Regions from separate parts of the Homo sapiens genome. Here region 1 is linked to region 2. Evidence: promoter capture Hi-C in human tissues and cell types (Jung and others, 2019). All regions are on one chromosome and are shown on one strand. Each heading gives the region's core, a stretch centred on a gene start or on the middle of the fragment in contact. The rest is flanking DNA. Distances are from core to core; before and after follow the strand shown.

The links. The method cuts DNA at HindIII sites, captures the fragments that hold promoters and counts their contacts. A contact is called where the count stands out against the background at its distance.
Region 1: the fragment with the promoter of CTSF here is called in contact with the fragment with the promoter of LRFN4 in region 2 in 1 of the 25 tissues and cell types used here (dorsolateral prefrontal cortex).

Annotation. Positions count from the first base shown.
Region 1 is chr11:66,567,356-66,573,423 of GRCh38, reverse strand. CTSF (cathepsin F) reads left to right here and starts at 4,818. Exons shown (of 13, transcript NM_003793.4): 1 at 4,818-5,150; 2 at 5,342-5,440; 3 at 5,762-5,980. The coding sequence starts at 4,938. RefSeq lists an enhancer at 1-452 and silencers at 3,032-3,326, 4,700-4,769. The HindIII fragment of the contact is 11,953 bases long and covers 1-6,068 here.
Region 2 is chr11:66,855,814-66,861,831 of GRCh38, reverse strand. It overlaps LRFN4 (leucine rich repeat and fibronectin type III domain containing 4), which reads right to left and starts at 4,768. Exons shown (of 2, transcript NM_024036.5): 1 at 2,739-4,768; 2 at 1,357-2,195. The coding sequence starts at 4,087. The coding sequence ends at 1,637. All of the region lies in intron 12 of PC (pyruvate carboxylase), which reads left to right. RefSeq lists silencers at 4,883-4,992, 5,153-5,682. The HindIII fragment of the contact is 20,544 bases long and covers 1-6,018 here.

The DNA of each region.
Region 1 (6,068 bases), core at 3,569-6,068, 290 kb after region 2:
TATTTTTAGTAGAGACGGGGTTTCACCTTGTTAGCCAGAATGGTCTCAATCTCCTGACCTTGTGATCCGCCCGCCTTGGCCTCCCAAAGTGCTGGGATTACAGGCATGAGCCACCCCGCCGGCGGACTGTAACATTATTATGCAGATGAAGCCTACAGGTAGCAAGCTTCAGAGATAATAGATTGTAAATGTTTCTTATCAAATTTAAAAAGATGCCAGAGGCCAGGCATGGTAGCTCATGCCTATAATTCCAGCACTTTGGGAGGCCGGAAAGCCGAAGTGGGTGGATCACCCGAGGTCAGGAGTTCAAAACCAGCCTGACCAACATGGTGAAACTCCATCTCTACTAAAAATACAAAAATTAGCTGGGTGTGCTGGCACATGCCTGTAATCCCAGCTACGAGGGAGGCTGAGGCAGGAACTACTAGGGAGACTGAGGCAGGAGAATCGCTTGAACCCAGGAGGCGGAGGTTGCAGTGAGCTGAGATGGCGCCATTGCACTCCAGCCTGGGCAACAAGAGTGAAACTCTGTCTCAAAAATAAATACATACGTACATACATACATACATATGTAAGATGCCAGATTCGGCTGGGCACAGTGGCTCCCACTTGTAATCCCAGCACTTTGGGAGGCTGAGGTAGGCAGATCACAGGGTTAGGAGTTTGAGACCAGCCTGGCCAACACAGTGAAACCCTGTCTTTACTGAAAATACAAAAAATTAGCCGGGCATGGTGGCAAGTGCCTGTAATCCCAGCTACTCAGGAGGCAGAGGCAGGACAATCGCTTGAACCCAGGAGGCGGAGGTTGCAGTAAGCTGAGATCACACAATTACACTCCAGCCTGGGTAACAGAGCAAGACTCTGTCTCAAAAAAAAAAAAAAAAAAAGCCAAATTCTTAGTGAAGTCTCTCCTGGATCAGGAAAAAGACCTAGAAATGGAAAGGGACTCTGGAGAATGTAGATTTTCCCCACAGGGACAGCTTTGCAGGGCCATTTCAAAGTATGTCAAATAAGTATATTTTAGGGTAAAATACATCAATATCTATCATGTGATACTAAAGTCAGGATAGTGTCTTTTTTTTTTGAGACAGAGTCTCACTCTGTCGCCCAAGCTGGAGTGCAGTGCTGCGATCCCAGCTTACTGCAACCTCCGCCTCCCAGATTCAAGCCTCAGCCTCCTGAATAGCTGGGGTTACAGGCACGCACCACCATGCCTCGCTAATTTTTGTATTTTATTTTATTTTATTTTTTTTTGTAGATGGAGTTTTGCTCTTGTCACCCAGGTTAGAGTGCAATGGCGCAATCTCGGCTCACTGTAACCTCCGCCTCCTGGGTTCAGGTGATTCTCCTGCCTCAGCCTCCTGAGTAGCTGGGACTACAGGCATGTACCACCATGACCCACTAATTTTTTTTTTTTTTTGAGATGGAGTCTCACTCTGTTGCTCAGGCTAGAGTGCAGTGGCGCAATCTCGGCTCACTGCAACCTTCCACGTCTTGGATTCAAGCAATTCTCCTGCCTCAGCCTCCTGAGTGTCTGGGATTACAGGCTTGTGCCACCACGCCCGGCCAATTTTTGTATTTTTATTAGAGACAGGGTTTCACCATGTTGGCCAGGCTGGTCTCGAACTCCTGACTTCAGGTGATCCGCCTGCCTTGGCCTCCCAAAGTGCTGGGATTACAGGCATGAGCCACCGCGCCCAGCCGAATTTGATGTCTTATTGCTACATTCTTGAATGTACTGCAAAAAAGTCTTAAGATCTCTGGCTTTTTTTTTTTTTTTTTTTTTGGAGACAGAGTCTTGCTCTGTCACCCAGGCTGGAGTGCAGTGGCGCAATCTCGGCTCATTGCAAGCTCCGCCTCCCAGGTTCACGCCATTCTCCTGCCTCAGCCTCCCGAGTAGCTGGGACTGCAGGCGCCTGCCACCACGCCCGGCTAATTTTTTGTATTTTTAGTAGAGATGGGGTTTTACCGTGTTAGCCAGGATGGTCTCCATCTCCTGGCCTCGTGATCCACCTGCCTCGGCCTCCCAAAGTGTTGGGATTACAGGCGTGAGCCACTGCGTCCGGCCCTTTTTTTTTGTTTTTTTTGAAACAGGGTCTTGCCCTGTCACTCACGCTGTAGTGCAGTGGCATAATTATGGTTCACTGCAACCTCAACCTCCTGTGATTAAGAGATCCTCTCACTTCAGACTCCCAAGTAGCTGAGACTATAGGCGCACACCGTTATGCCTGGCTAACGTTTGTATTTTCGTAGAAATGGGGTTTTGCCATGTTGCCCAGGCTGGTCTCAAACTCCTGGGTTCAAGTGATCTTCCCAACTCTGTCTCTCAAAGTGTTGGGATTATAGGCATGAGCCACCATGCCCAGCCTAAAATCTCTGTTGTAATGTTAATGCTGGTCAGTTGTGCCTCAATTCCAAAGGGAGGAGAGTATAATGAAACATGCCTAACTTCCACTTCCCATTATGGCCTGAACTATTATCATTGTTGAGGTTAACGTTGGAATGTCTTTGACTGGGAGGAAGGGTCCATTCAGATGGTTGGAGGGGATTAGAATTTTATTTTTAATTTACAGAGGGAAGAGCATAATCAAGGAAAGATTAGTATCTGCTGCAATCCCTCAGATCCTCTCCTCTCAGACCTCAGCTGGCAACTGGAAGCATTGAGATGGCTCCACTCTGGCTCCAGCACTAATGTCTGAGTAGCTGGAATGTCACTTTGTCTCTCTAGACCTCTGCTGCTGTAGCAATTCTGGTTTGAACTAGATGATCTTGTAATTCCCAGATGGGTTCTTCCTGCCTACTGCACAAACAAAATCAATTCAGAGACCATAGCATTGCAGAAAAGAACGAGTTTAACTGACACAAGACCTGCCATGCCACACAGGAGACAGGGTTATTACTCAATCAGTCTCACTGAAGGCTTGGAGGTCGGGGTTTTTCAAAGATAGTTTGGTAGGCAGGCGGCTAGGATATGGGTGCTACTGATTGCTTGGGAATGAAATCATAGTAGTGTGGAAAATGGCCCTCCTGCACTGAGTCTGCTTCTGGGTAGGGGTCACAGGACTGGTGGAGTCACACGTCAGTGTGGGGCCATTCCATAGTCACAAATGCAAAAGCCTGGAAGAGATAGCTCAAAAGATCAGTCTTACATTCCATGATAGTGATGTTAATTACAGGAGTAACTGGCAAAGTTGCAAATCTTGTGACTTCCAGAACAATGGCTGGTAATCCTTTAACTATGCCTACATCTTAGTAGAATTCAGGCCCCTCTCATCCTCCTAACTTGGTGGCCTTTCATTAGTTTTACAAGGGTGGTTTAGTTTTCAGGAAGGCGTATTCTAATTTAAAGTATAAGCTAAATTTATCCAAAAGTTACCTTGGCCCATGCCCAGGAATGAGTGAAGACAGCCAGCCTGTGAGGCTAGAAAGCAAGATGCAGTCAGCCATGTCAGATTTCTCTTACTGTCATAATTTTGCAAAGGCAGTTTCAATTTTTTTTTTTTTTTGAGATGGAGTCTCACTGTCTTACCAGGCTGGAGTGCAATGGTGCGCTCTCAGCTCACTGCAACCTCTGACTCCCTGGTTCAAGCGATTCTCCTGCCTCAGCCTCCTGAGTAGCTGGGATTACAGGCACGTGCCACCATGCCCAGCTAATTTTTTTGTATTTTTAGTAGAGACAGGGTTTCACCATGTTGTCCAGGATGGTCTCCATCTCCTGACCTCGTGATCCGCCCACCTTGGCCTCCCAAAGTGCTGGGATTACAGGCGTGAGCCACTGCGCCCGGCCTAAAAATATTTTTAGTAGTGACGGGGTTTCACCTCGTTGGCCAGACTGGTCTCGAACTCCTGAGCTCAGGTGATCTGCCCGCCTCGGCCTCCCAAAGTGCTGGGATTACAGGCGTGAGACACTGCACCCAGCCCATCTGTCGTTCTTCTCTCTAGACTGTGAGCTCCAAGAACGCAGCACTATTCCTGTAATGCATCTGTGCATGCTTTCCCTTGGTAGACCCTGGAACACAGCAGGTGAATGCTTCAAGGGACAGTCTCAACCCTGTGCACCCTGCCTTAGTGGCTACTGAATGCTTGCATGATTGCATTTGAACCTCACAACAGCCTGAGACGCTGCCAGCACTCAAAAAATTACCTGCCATCTCGCTGTTGAGAAGAGGGGCCTGAAAGAGGCGATCAAGCTGCAAACCCAGGCTCAGAAGCCAACTGCCTGGATTTAAGTTTAGCTCAATTCCTTACCAGATATTTGGCAAGCCACTTAATATTTCTCTCTCTCTCTTTTTTGAGACGGAGTTTTGCTCTTGTCGCCTGGGCTGGAGTGCAATGGCACGATCTGAGCTCACTGCAACCTCTGCCTCCTGGGTTCAAGTGATTCTCCTGGCTCAGCCTCCCAAGTAGCTGGGATTACAGGCGCCCACCACCACGCCCAGCTCTTTTTTGTATTTTTAGTAGACACAGGGTTTCACCACGTGTGCCAGACTGGTCTCAAACTCCTGACCTCAGGTGATCCACCCGCTTTGGCCTCCTAAAGTGCTGGGATTACAGGGCTGAGTCACAGAGCCCGGCCACGCCATTTAATCTCTCCAAGCCTCGTTTCCTCCACTGTACGATGGGGATAGCACCTACTTCAGAGATTGCTACGCCGAATAAAAGGAGCTGGCATATCATGCCTAACATATAACAAGCACGTGATAGAGGTCAGTGACTAGCTTTAGCCTCAGGCCAGCAGCCTCCCGCTCTCCCTACCCTGCGCGCCCCACGTGCCTCCTGTAAACAAGAGAACGCGCAGGCGCCGCAAACCAGCGCCCATTGGTCGGCGTGCCGTCGCCCCGCTGGAGGGAGGACTCAGGCCCCGCTGGCCGCGGGCTCGGTACCCGGTGGGTCGGTGGAGCGTCTGTTGGGTCCGGGCCGCCGGCTTCGCCCTCGCCATGGCGCCCTGGCTGCAGCTCCTGTCGCTGCTGGGGCTGCTCCCGGGCGCAGTGGCCGCCCCCGCCCAGCCCCGAGCCGCCAGCTTTCAGGCCTGGGGGCCGCCGTCCCCGGAGCTGCTGGCGCCCACCCGCTTCGCGCTGGAGATGTTCAACCGCGGCCGGGCTGCGGGGACGCGGGCCGTGCTGGGCCTTGTGCGCGGCCGCGTCCGCCGGGTGAGGACGCGCCGGGGGCGGGGGCGCCAGGCCCGGGTCCAAGGGATAGGAGCTTTGACCTAACATTGGGATGGGGCCTGCCCGCTGGACGAACCGATCTCTGGTGATGGGGAATGGGCAGCGCCGCACGGGCGGGGCCTTGGGCGCCGTCAAGGGCCGACTGTGCCCGCCTCACCTACTCCTCTCTCCAGGCGGGTCAGGGGTCGCTGTACTCCCTGGAGGCCACCCTGGAGGAGCCACCCTGCAACGACCCCATGGTGTGCCGGCTCCCCGTGTCCAAGAAAACCCTGGTGAGTGATGAGGCTCTTGGGGTTCCCCGCCCCGAGGCCGAGTAAAGCAGCAGTTGGATGATGACGGGTCAGGTCAAGACGCAGGGATCTGAGGTAGCTGCTGCCCCACCTTGAGCCACTTCCCAGGCCCCGAGGGCTGGAAACCAAGATGCTATGAAGGGGAGGATGCCCCGGTGCAGGCCGTGCCTCACTGTCCACTGTGATGGGGTGATTGCCTTAGGGGTGGCTCTCATCTGAGGAGCCTCCAGCTCCATCTTGGCCAGATCTTGCTCCCCAGATCCAGATCCAGGCCCCCAGAGCAGCTTCTTCCTCTCCCTCCAGCTCTGCAGCTTCCAAGTCCTGGATGAGCTCGGAAGACACGTGCTGCTGCGGAAGGACTGTGGCCCAGTGGACACCAAGGTTCCAGGTGCTGGGGAGCCCAAGTCAGCCTTCACTCAGGGCTCAGCCATGATTTCTTCTCTGTCCCAAAACCATCCAGACAACAGAAACGAGACTTTCAGCTCAGTCATTTCCCTGTTGAATGAGGATCCCCTGTCCCAGGTGAGGAGCCCTCAGCTTGAGGAGCCCTCAGCTTGAGGAGCCAGCCGCTGCCTCATCACCCTTCTCCCTTCCCTCTGGAGTGGGTTTC
Region 2 (6,018 bases), core at 3,519-6,018:
GCACTAGAGACCGTGACCACGGGGCCAGCAGCAGGATAAGTGTCTCTGGTGTCTGGGGGTGCCAAGTCCTCCCCAAATGTGCACCAAGACCAGGCCGCTGGCTCTAGCCGCCTCCTGAGCCTCATGCTAGCGCCCAGCGTGGCAGCCCTGGCCCTCCTGTCCCTTTGCCGTCTGTGCCCACCCACCCTGTCCCGCGCCCCCGCCCACTCCTCCATGGCGTTCGCTCCCCACACCCTTCTCTGTCGAGGACCTTGCTCCCATTCATCTAAACCAGGCTCTCGAAGCCCACCTCTAGCTGCATGTTCTGGGGCTGGGAGGGCAGGCACACGCGTGTGAGCCAGGTCCATGCACACGTGAACACACGTATGCCTTAGAGCACCTGCCTCACCTCGGCTGCCCGGTGGCAGCGCCTTGGCCCTCACACAGAAAACACCAGGGAGTCTGTGCAGCGTGTTTGCCGTGGCCTGGGGTGCCAGGGCCGCCTTCTGAGTTTTCATACAGCACCTGGGGGAGCTTGACCCTCTGCAGGGCTGAGGGCCACGTCTGCCCATGCCCCCCAGCCAGTGCCTAGAAGCAGATAGTTCAGGAGGCTGCAGGGGCTGGGCCAGGTCGGAGGCTGCCCGGGCCTGGCCAGGGGTCCTAGCAGAGAAAGCAGGGCTCGTGCCCATCCGGCTGCCTCCCTGCAGCGAGGGAGGGCGAAGGCCGCCTTCCCAGGAAGGCCCAGAGCACATCTGAGCTGGCAGCTGCGGTCCTGCTCGGACCCACAGTTCTGACAGGAACCTTCCAGAGGATCACGGGCTGATGGCAGAGCAGTGGGGTTCCCTGCCCTTCCAGTCCCTTTGGGATGGCGTTTTACCAGTCCACAAGATGCCCTGGGAGGTGGCAGACACAGCTGTCAGCACCTGGAGCCATGAGGACTTTTCACTGTACGCTCAGCCCAGGTCCGTTCTCCCAGAGGGCTGTACCGTCCCCCACCTCCTCCTGTTGCTTAGTCCAGTCCTGTGTCCGCCCCGCAGACCCTGAAGTGCCATGGGGAAGGCGCTCACACGTGCTCCCCAGGCTTTACACTGGATACGGCGTCCTGTCGCCACCTGGCAGGAAGGGGCGTTCTTTGCACTTACAGGCGAGGGTAGGCCGCCTGCCCAAGCCCATGCTCTTGCAGGTCAGAAGACACCAGGCACAGCCCTTGGCCGCAGCCCTGGGCCGCCCCTGTGGACAGGAAGCCAGGAGGCCCCAGGCTGCTGTGACTGCCCCCACCGGCCCTGGTAGCCCCACCCTTGTCCGTGTGCCACCAGCGGCCCGTGTCCTGTCCTCCCGTCTCGGGGGACCTAGCCAGACAACACCAGAGACTAGCACTGAGGTGTCCCCAACAATTTTATTATAAATAAAAACAAGACTCCCAGTGGGTGGCTGCAGCCCCTGCCTCGGTGGCTGTGAGCACCTGTTGGAGGGGCCTGCCCTTACCCTGGTCTGGAGGCCAGAACCGAGGAAAGGGCTCCCTGCCCCTCCAAGTACACAGGGGAGCCTGAGGTACTGAGAATAAAAACCAGGGAGGGACTCCCAGGCCAGGCGGCGGCCCCGGGCCCTCTGCCCCACGAGGCTCATCCCTTGGAGCACACAGGAAGCTGCCCGTCCATCACACCACACTCTCTTCCAGCCGCTCGGCGCTGCCTCCTACCCCCCGGCACCCTGCCCCGAGCAGCCCCCCATGCACAGAGTGGCTCCGTCGGGCCCAAGCTCCTCCCAGGCGCCTGGCATAACCGTAGCACCCGGCATCTCCCAGGTCCAGAGAGCAGCTGCGCTGCGGCCGGGGCGGGGGGCTCCGCGGCGGGTGGGCCTTGGGTGTGGGGCTGGGGCCTCCATTGGTCTGGGACTGGACGTGGCTGAGCTTGAGGGGGAGGCGGCCATTTCCGGCCCCCCGGCCCCGAACCAGCAAGGCCACAGTGAAGACCAGTAAGGCAGCCACCAGCACACCCCCCACGGCCACGGTCAGGGTCCCGCCCAGCACGTGGGCCTGCAGGGCGTGGCACAGGGGCGAGGCCGGCAGCGTGGAGAAATGGGCACAGCCCAGCAGCCTGGTGGCCGTGAGGTCAGAGGGCCCAGCGGCCGGTGACAAGGCCAGCAGGCAGAGGTCATAGTCAGCGCCGGGGACGAGGTGCTTCAGCAGGAAGTGGTGGCTGGAGGCTGGGACAATCCTGCAGGCAAGGGCAGGTGGTCAGAGCCCGGGGCTGGGGTCTAGCCCCATCCTCACCTCCCCACTCCCGTGCTCCCAGCTCCAAACACCCCTCCCCCTGGGGCCACTCGGGCTCTTGGGTTCACTCAGGAAGGTGAACAGGCTGGAGAGTGTGGCCAGGAGATGGGTGTGTGCACTGGCACAGGACGCAGGCAAGCGAGGGGAATGGGGTGGGGGGATGGCACCAGCAGAGGCAGAAATAACACGCGGGCGCGGGCCATGTGCTTCAGACAGACCCAACCGCCACCTGCTGCCGGGGAGGCCTGCACAGCTCAGTGACACCTGGGACATCTCGGGGTGGGGTCCTTCTGCCGCCCCTTGAGCTCCAGCCCCCTCAGGCAGCCAGGCCAGGCCAGGCCACTGCTCCTCCAAGAGTCCAGCAGCCATGGTCGGGGAGGGGGTGTCAGCCCCAGAGAGAGGAGGGGTGGAAGCAAAGCCTTGTGGGGAGCAGAGGGCGGAGGAAGGGCGCCGGGAGTGCAGCCGGGTGTGGGGCACGCATCCTCACCGGTAGATGAGGGTCTCATCTTCGCTGCTGTTGTACTGGATTTGGAACATCCACACTGGGTCGGCTGGCCGCCCGGGACCCCAGCTCACCAGCCCTGAGGTGGCGGTCACCTCCGTCACCTGCACGGCTGGCTCAGACTCCAGCGTCCCCTCACCCTCGGCAGCAGTGCGAGCGGAGGCGGCGATGTCCGAGGGCCCGGGGCGGCCCCCCTCGGCACTGCTGTTCCCACCATGGGGCAAGGCCAGCACCCGCAGTTCTACTCGGGCTGTGGCCTCACCAGCAGGGTTGGTGGCGATGCAGGTGTAGCCCCCAGCGTCCCCAGCGCCGGTCACCCCAATCTCTAAGGTCCCGTTGGGGAAAGCCCGGGCTCGGGAGGAGTTGCCAACCAACCGGTCGTCAGGACCGACCCAGTGCATGGTAGGCGCGGGGTCACCCAGGGCCCGGCACCGCAGCGTGGCCCGCTGGCCTTCCAGCACCCAGAGGCGCTGCGTGTGGCGGGCAATGAGGGGCGGCTCACAGGAGAACTCGCCCTCGGGCACTGCCCAGAAGTAGCGGCCGGCCAGGCCGGGCGGGGAGGCGCACGTTTCCAGGTCGTCCGGCCGCGCCAGCCGCCGCAGCCACAGCAGCTCACAGTTGCAGTGCAGGGGGTTCCCGCTAAAGCTCAGCACCAGGGGGGCGGGAGAGGCCTCTGCATCACGCCCACGAGAGAAAAGCGGGTCCGGAGCCAGCGTGGCCAGGCGGTTGGAGGTGAGGTCCAGGCGGGAGAGCTGACCGAGCTGGGCGAAGGCGCCTGGGGGCAGTGCGTCAATAAGGTTATGGTCCAGGTTGAGGGTGTGCAGGGCAGGCATGGCGCCGATGCCGGCCCAGGGCACCTGCCGGAGGTTGTTGTAGGACAGGTCCAGGTCCTCCAGGCTCTCTAGGAAGTCGTCGAAGGCTCCCGGCGCGATGCGGCCCAGCTGGTTGCCGCTGAGGATGAGGTGCTGCAGATTGACGGGGCCCCGGAGGCTCCCGGTGCCCAGCTCCACCAGCCTGTTGCCGTCAAGGTGGAGGGAACGCAGGCTCTCGAGGTCCCCAAAGGCGCGGGCCCCAATGCGGGTGATGGCATTGCGAGACAGTGTCAGGTCCACCAGTCCCGTCATGTTGCGGAAGTCAGGGGGCCCCAGGGCCTGGATGAAGTTGTCAGCCAGCCGCAGCTCCACTGTGCGCCGGTCCACGTTGGGCGGCACAAACAGCAGGCCTCGGTGGGCACAGAGGGTGCTGAGCGACTCGGACAGGTTCTGGCAGACGCAGGGCAGCGGGCAGGCGGCCGCTCCACTGGCCAGCAGCAGCAGCAGGAGCGGCGGGGCCATGGTGAGCGCCCTGTAGGAAGGGGCCACAGCCCAGGCACAGGTGGGGCTGGCGCAGGTGCCCACTTGGGCCCAGGACAGTCCCAGAAGCCAGCTTCTGTGAGCCTGGCCCGGGGAGGGGCTGGGTCAGAGGCCCAAGAGGGCCGCCAGAGATGAGGGAAGGTTGGGGCCTGCAGGGCCAGGCCCCCCAGAGCAAAGGTCACATTTCCCAAGCAGTTAAGGGGGAGTCCAGGCGCTGGGGACAAGGTGAGGCATGAGGCAGGAAGCGGAGGAGGACCGAGAGCAGGGAGGGTCCCGGAACTTCCTTTCCCAGGCGTCCCCAGGAATCGCCAGCCGCCTCCCCACTCCCCGCCATACCCTCCCCCGCCAGAGAAGGCGCCCCCCGAACCTCCCGTGGAGTCCGTGGCCCCTCCCTGGCCGGCCCCCGCGCTGCGCCCGGCGGCCCCCTCACCTGGTGTCCGTCGCTCAGGGGGCGCGGGCCGGCCTCCCTGCGAGCCCGGCCGGCCCCCGCCGACTCCTGGCCGCTCTCCCGCGGGGACGAGGCCCGGGGATGACCGGCCGCCCGCCGCCCACCCTCGGGCCCATGGCGCTCGGGCCCGCGGCCCCGGCTCGCTCGGTTCCCGGCACCTTTTCCCGGCGCGGTTAGCGGTGGCGGCGGCGACAGGCGAGCGGGTGCGCGCCGGCGGGCGCGCGCGCCGCGGACACGCACGTGGAGGGCGGACGGGGAGGGGCGCGCGGGGATCCACCCGGGCCCGGGCCGGCTCCTGAGGTCACGGGGACACGCGGCCGCTGCAGCGCCCACGGGTGGCGCCCAGTCACGCCCGAGGCCCGGGCCGGCGCGGGCCCTCCGCGCTGTCCCCCGGCGCTGCCGCAGCGCACTCACCCTGGCACAGGCGCGCGCGCCCCCGGCCATCCTGGCGCCCCGGCATCCTGCACCGCACGGGCGCCCGCCGCCGCGGCGCGAACCTCACTCTGCAGACAGCCAGACAAAGCGCCTGCTCGCGGGCCCCTTCACCATCTCCCGGAGACGGGCGTCTTTGTCACATGTCGCTGGGCACCCTCCCCAACACACCCACACATGCCCACACACCCACACGTCCCTGCACCCACGGGCAGGGCCGAGCGCAAACCCGCACTGTTGCTGGGACCCTTGCGTTCACAGACACACGCTGAAGGTCATAACCGTTCTGCATCACCGAGTCACGTGGAGGGTCCCCAACCGGCACGGGGTTCGGCCGTGGGGGGGGCTGGGGCGGCGCCCCTGGCAGGGCTGCTGCGGGGTGGGGCCGAGAGGGCTTGGCCTCCGGGCAGGCGCCCCGCCCCCGCCGCCCCGCCCTGTCCCCAGCTGCCTCTCGCCTCTCCCTCCCTCCCCAGCTGCCCCGCCCGCCCCGCGGGCCAGGCGTTCCGGAGCCAACCGGCCTCCGCCTCGGGCCGGATTGGTCTGCGCGGCGCGGCTTCCCAACCGCCGGGGGCACGCATTGGGAAGCTGTGCGTCCTCGCAGCGCCTGCGGCCCCTCCCTCCCGCTCTGTCGCCGCCGGGCCATTTCCCTGGAAGAGCGGCTCGGAACCAGCTCCTCTCAGAGAAAGGGCTCCCGGCGTGAGGTGGGGGAGGTTCTTTGCTTCCTGGTTGAGAAAGCTGGGGCTTCGGTGGCTCGGCGAGCCTGGTTTCCTTCCAGCTGTGCCCGCCACCACCAGTGGTCTGCCCAGTTGGGAAACAGGAAGTCACCACCTCCCCGTGTCTCCTGGTCCTTAAGCCACCTAAACCTCAGCCATCCTCGTTCTCCCTCCAGCCCTGATCCCCATGGGCCAGGTGGCAGGAAACTCGGGGAAACCCAAGATTGGAATTCTGATCCTGTCAGCACAGCAGTGTAGTCCTGGGCACGTTACCTGACCACTGAAAACAAGTTCCTCCTGTAGGCCAGGAGAGTTGGATG